Regions from separate parts of the Homo sapiens genome. Here region 2 is linked to region 1. The links are contacts of gene promoters, found by promoter capture Hi-C in human tissues and cell types (Jung and others, 2019). All regions are on one chromosome and are shown on one strand. The core of a region is centred on a gene start or on the middle of the fragment in contact, and the rest is flanking DNA. Distances in the headings are between cores, read along the strand shown. Region 1 holds the start of EFCAB12 (EF-hand calcium binding domain 12). Region 2 overlaps HMCES (5-hydroxymethylcytosine binding, ES cell specific).

The links. The method cuts DNA at HindIII sites, captures the fragments that hold promoters and counts their contacts. A contact is called where the count stands out against the background at its distance.
Region 2: a contact is called between a fragment that was not itself captured here and the fragment with the promoter of EFCAB12 in region 1, in 2 of the 25 tissues and cell types used here (mesenchymal stem cells and spleen).

Annotation. Positions count from the first base shown.
Region 1 is chr3:129,427,234-129,430,294 of GRCh38, forward strand. EFCAB12 (EF-hand calcium binding domain 12) reads right to left here and starts at 1,403. Exons shown (of 9, transcript NM_207307.3): 1 at 1,207-1,403. The coding sequence starts at 1,255. RefSeq lists a silencer at 1,540-1,589. The HindIII fragment of the contact is 10,320 bases long and covers 1-3,061 here.
Region 2 is chr3:129,291,070-129,294,184 of GRCh38, forward strand. All of the region lies in intron 4 of HMCES (5-hydroxymethylcytosine binding, ES cell specific), which reads left to right. Among named protein-coding and RNA genes, the nearest start is that of HMCES, 14 kb to the left of the region's middle. The HindIII fragment of the contact is 7,582 bases long and covers 1-3,115 here.

The DNA of each region.
Region 1 (3,061 bases), core at 153-2,652:
CCTGCCTCAGCTTCCCATAGTGCTGGGATTACAGGCGTGAGATACTGTGCCCAGCTACTGACAAGGATCTTAAACTCAACCAACCAAGACTGGATTTGTCTTTGTGCCCCTTCCCCCACTAACTGGGTCCTCTGAGTACGTTCTCTTATCTCTGTGGAAGACATCTCCATCTACCAGGTCCCCCAGCTGCCAACTTGAGAACCATCTTTATTTGCCTCTTCTGTGTTTCCTGACCAACCAGCCCCCAAGTCCCGTAGTTCCCTCTAGCCTGGGCCTTCTCCCTCACCTCCCAGCATCTTTAGCTTGGGCATTTGACCAGAGCCCTGACCTGTGTGCCTGGGAAAGGTGGCCAGCCTCTCCAGCTCTCCCTGTTTCTCCACTGGGCATTAATGTGTTCAGTGCTGGAGAAGCGGCATGGAGAAGACCTTCAGTCTTCAAGCTTTATAGCCCCCAGCTCTCATCTCCCCACACCAACATTCTGAGTCTGCCAACTCAGTCTCAGGTCTTTTCTGACTGCTCCCAATCCAGTCCTGCCACTCCCAGTGGCCTCTCCATCTCCTGGCTTGCAGTATCTTTTATGATCTTGTCCCTTCTGACCTCTCTCACCTCATTTCCAGAGACACCAGACCTCTTGGGTCATGCTGTTTCCTTGCCCGAAATGCTTTTCCTTCCCCTTTTGGCTTGGAGAACTCCTTTTTATCCTTTAAGCTCCAGTGTAAAGATCTTTTCCAAAAGCTTGGAACTGTTCCTCCCCATCCCATACCCTCAGCACACCTTTTACTCCTGGGTGTCATCCCTGGGCCCGGCATTTACCCCTTCTTATTCTGTAATTATCCATTTATCTCTGTCCTTTACCCGTGAAGCTGCATTGCTTTGCCAAGAACTTGGTCCCCAGCACATTACTGCCAAAACCTTGAAGACTGACGTCTTCTCCATGCCTCTCCTCCAGTACTGAATACATTAATGTCCTGCAGAGAAACAGGGCGAGCTGGAGGGCTCCCGTCACATGGGTCGGGCCTCTGGTTCCTCCAACTAGGCTCAGATAGAAATCTCAGAAATGTACATGACCTGCCCCCGACTCCATGGCAACCCTTCACCCAGAGGGGGTCGGCACAATATCTGTGGCTGAGTTTTTGCCCTCACCCCACTTTCACGCGTCCTTAGGGCGCTGAGCGCTCCCTGCAGACGCTTCTTCCCGGGGCTTACCGAGCAGCGACAAGAACAGACTGTGGTACGCTTCATAGTCGTCGTCCATGGTCGTGGTGCTGGGAGGGGGTGCTGAAGGGCGTGTGTGAATGTGTGTCGATGTGGGCTTGCTTGCGTAGGGGTACCGGGGTATCAGATAAACCGTAACTCCAAGTCGTGCGAAAGGCGCTCAGCTCAGACTGCAGAAGCAACCTGTTGCCGTGGCTACGGACGCCCCGCGCCAATTGGCTGAGCGCTGTCACGTGTTAAGAGCGAGCCCGCCCTGCCGAGCGCCTGCTGGCCCCACCTCGTTTTCGTCCAATTCTGGGAGGGGCAGCGAGCAAATCCACGCCCCGCCCAGTTCTGGGCTTGGTGAAAGGCGGGATTTCTTTGTTCGGCCCAGTAGTCCCTGAATCCAGTGTAGAAAGTCTCCGGTTTTCCCGTGAAATGTGGGATCTTCCGCAGGTCTCCATATCTCTAGGCCTCAGTTTTCTCATAGGAAAAATAGGCCCTGCCTCCTCCAGAGGGTTAGGAAGAACCAAAGTGAGCTGTGGCCAGATAGAGGTGTTGGGTATGTTCTGCCCCGCTTATGGCAGGGTGCCATGGTTTGGAGTTACAGAACCTGAGGACCAGAGAATAATAATAAACCCTTGAAATGTGCATCAACTGATAAGCAAAATGAGGTATATCCATAGGATGGCCATAAGAAGGAATGAAGTACATGCTACAATATGGATAAACCTTCAAAACAGTATGCTAAGCAAGAAGCTAGACACAAAAGGCCACGTGCTGTATGATTCCATTTATGTGAAATGTTCAGCATAGACGAACCCACAGACACGGAAAGTAGATGAATGGTTGCTAGGGGATGGGGTGAGTAATTGAAGTGACTGCTAACAGGTGGAGAGATTCTTTTTGGAGTGGAAAAAAGAAATGGAAACTTCTGGAATTAGTGATGATGGCTGCACACTGTAAATGTACTAAACCACTGAACTGTACACTTTAAAATGGTTAAATGGTGGCTTTTAGCTCAATTTTTAAAAAGTTAAAGAGAAACACCTAAGCCCTTATTCCTTTGCTGAGACAAGCTATCTTTGTGACGCTTGCAAACAGATTGTTGCCATGGGCCACATTCACACAGCACTCTTGCAAGCCAGGTACCATTTTAGCACTACATGTCTGAACTTCATAATTACCATCATTGTGTGAGGTAGACACCACTATCCCATTTTTAAAAGACAAGTTAACAGGTACAGAGGTCAGGCAACCTCACCTGCAAGAAACAGGAAAAGCCAGGCCTAGAGCCTGAGCAACCTGGCTGTGTCCTGAGCTCCCCTGGTGCAGAGCTCGCCTCCTGCATTCACACGGGCCCACACTCCCCATGGAGATGCTGGGGGAAGGTATGTGACCACCAGCCCTACCACAAAGCCACACCTGATGCCCTGAGCTTGGTGAGCTCGCCCCACCCTCCAGGCCCAGCTGGGCCCAAGGTTTCAGAGGCCCCTCTCCACCCTCTTTGGGTGTCTTGTCCCTACTCCTTACCGCTTTTGTTCCCTTCCATTATTAGGTGCCCTTCTTTCTCTCTGTGAGGGTCTGTACAGAACTTGTTTATCTTTGTGCCCCTCCCCACCACAGGGCTTTACACTTTGTGAATGCTACTTGGATGTTTGTTAAATGAAAATGTGATGGTAAACTATAAAGTGGGTTTGCCTTGGGGAGAGGGAGGTGTGGCCAGTTTTCCTGTTCTCTGGTCAAAATCTATCCTTCTAAAAACTGACACTCACTAAAGTGGAAACAACCAACTACCTCTGCATCACACTGCAGCCTGATTCGGTTCACACTGCCCTACAACAAAGGCAGTTTCCTGAACAACTGA
Region 2 (3,115 bases), core at 174-2,673, 140 kb before region 1:
TGTGTGCCTGTAGTCCCAGCTACTCGGAAGGCTGAGGTGGGAGGATCACTTGAACCCACGAGATAGAGGCTGCAATGAGCTATGATCACACCACTGCACTGGGCGACAGAGCAAGACTCTGTCAAAATAAAATAAAATAAAGTGAAATGAAATGAAATGAGCTCATTGAGAGATAATTCACCTTAAAATTCACCTTTTTAAAATGTGCAATTCAGGAATGTTTTAGTATGTTCAAAGTATGCAATTATTACCTCTATTTTTAGAATATTTTTATCACTCTAGAAGGAAACTACATATCCATTAGCAATCACTCTTTATTCTCCACTATGCCCAGCCCCTGTCAAACACGAATCTACTTTCCATCTCTGGATTTGCCTATTTTGGACATTTCATAAAAACAGAATCATAGAATATGTGGTCTTTTGTGACTGGCTTCTTTGATTTAGCATAATGTTTTCAAGATTCATCCATGTTTGGCATGGATCAGCACTTCATTCCTTTTTGTAAGAACAGACCACATTTTGTTAATTCATTCATCAGTTGATAGACACTTGGATTGTTTCCACTTCTTGGTTATTATGAATAATGCTGCTATGAACATTCATGTACAAGTTTTGCATGGATTTGTTTTCATCTCTCTTGGATAGATGCCTAGGAGTGGAATTGCTAGGTCATATTACAACTCTACGTTTAACATTTCCTTCATAAAACTTTCACTGTGGCTGGGCGCAGTGGTTCAGGCCAGGCACGGTTGCTCATGCCTGTAATCCCAGCACTTTGGGAGGCCAGAGCAGGTGGATTACTTGAGCTCAGGAGTTCAAGACCAATCTGGGCAACATGGCGAAAACCCATCTCTACCAAAAATACAAAAAATTAGCTGGGCGTGGTCCCAGCTACTTGGGAGGCTGAGGTGGGAAGATGACTTGAGCCCAGGAGGTGGAGGTTGCAGTGAGCTGAGGTCGTGCTACTGTACTCCAGCCTGAGTGACAGAGTGAGACCCCATCTCAAAAATGAAACAAAAACCCTTTCACTGTAAGACATAATTTGAACTGTTCATGTTAAAACATTATCAGGAGATTGAAAACAAATCTGACATGCCAACATCATGTTTTATTTTTAATTAGATTATTTAGTCTGACACTGCTAAAGCACCTGAGTTCTTAGCAGTTTGCTTGTTAAAATTGGGAATTGTTTGTTCACCTGTCATCTCATTTTGGGGACTGGAAATAGTGTTACCGAGTAAAAGGGACTTGCTACCCAATGTGCTAGAAGCCAATACCATGATACTGAGTAGCTGGTCCCAGCTACTTGGCAGGCTGAGGTGGAATGATAGCTTGAGCCTGGGGTGGGGAGTGGAGGGTGCAGTGAGCCGAGATTGCACCACTGCACTCCAGCCTGGGTAACAGAGAAAAGTTTTTTTTTTTCTTCTTTTTTTTTTTTTGAGACAGAGTCTCTCTCTGTTGCCCAGGCTGGAGTGCAGTGGCGTGATCTCGGCTCACTGCAGCCTCTGCCTCTCGGGTTCAAGCGATTCTCCTGCCTCAGCCTCCCAAGTAGCTGGGACTACAGGCGTGTGCCACCAGGCCCGGCTAATTTTTTGTATTTTTAGTAGAGACGCGGTGTTAGCCAGAATGGTCTCAATCTCCTGACCTTGTGATCCACCCGCCTCGGCCTCCCAAAGTGCTGGGATTACAGGCGTGAGCCACTGCGCCTGGCCGAGAAAAGTTTTTTATTTCAAGTCGACTAACAAGAAGACAGGAGTCCAGCTCAACTCTGTCTCCCTAGCTGGCTTTAAGGAGTACTTTTATTAAAAAAATGTTTAGGGAGTGGATTCTGGGATTAGTAGGTGATTGGTGGAAGGAAAGGGGAGGCCTGGAAAGTCTTCAGGTATGTGCAGTTATCTCTTCCTGCCTCCATATAGGTCTCATGTGCAAATTCAGGGGGAGTTAGTGTGAAATGTGGTGGAAATTCAGGCTGTGATATAAGCAAGCTTGTTTTGCATATACTCTAGTCAGTTATTGGTTCCAACCAATTCAGCCAGTTTTGTTATCTTACAAGCGGAGGGAGTTTCACTGTTTCAGCAAGTTATTTTCTTATGTGCTATCCTGTAAGCCCAAGAATTTAGTCATTGGTGTTTTTGTTTGTTTGTTTGTTTTTTAACTCTTTGGGGCAGTTTCAGTAGTCAAGAGAGTTTGCCTCACCCTCAGATAATTCCCTATCAGTGATGGGTGCACCAAAATCTCAGAAATCACCACTAAAGAATTTATTCATGTAACCAGACACCACCTGTTCCCCAGAAACCTATTGAAATAAAACATAAATTAAAAAAGAAAATTCCCAGTCTAGCCAGTCTAGTAACACACAAATGATTTGGTACAAGACAAGATTAATTTATAAAACATCTATCAATTATAATAGCAAATATTAAGCACTTACTACTAGTCAGTTACTCTTTCTAGGAACTTAATGTGTATTAGCTTAATATACATTAATTCTTTTTTTTTTTTTTTTTTTTTTTTTTGAGACAGAGTTTCACTCTTGTTGCCCAGGATGGAGTGCAATGGTGTGGTCTTAGCTCACTGCAACCTCCACCTCCTGGGTTCAAGCAATTCTGCCTCGGCCGCCTGAATAGCCGGGATTACAGGTGCGTGCCACCATGTCTGGCTAATTTTTGTATTTTTAGTAGAGACAGGGTTTCACCATGTTAGCCAGGCTGGTCTCTAACTCCTGACCTCAGGTGATCCGCCTGCCTCAGCACCCCCTAAGTGCTGGGATTACAGGCATGAGCTACTGCGCCTGGACTTGAACTTAATTTTTACACTACAGATAGTTGGATTTTCCTTTTTGATTCAGTCTGACAATCATTCTTTTAATTTGTGTTTAGAACATTTAATTTAATGTAATTATTGATGTGATTGGGTTAAAATCCATTGTTTTGCTAGTTTTCTATTTGTTCCATCAACTCTTTGTTCCTTTTCTCCTGATCTTTCTGTTTTGGGAATAATCTTTTATAATTGCATTTCATCTCTATTATTGGCTTATTATTTTTGCCTCTCAAAAAATGTCTTTAGGCCGGGCGCAGTGGCTTACAACTCTAATCCCAGCACTTTGGGAGGCT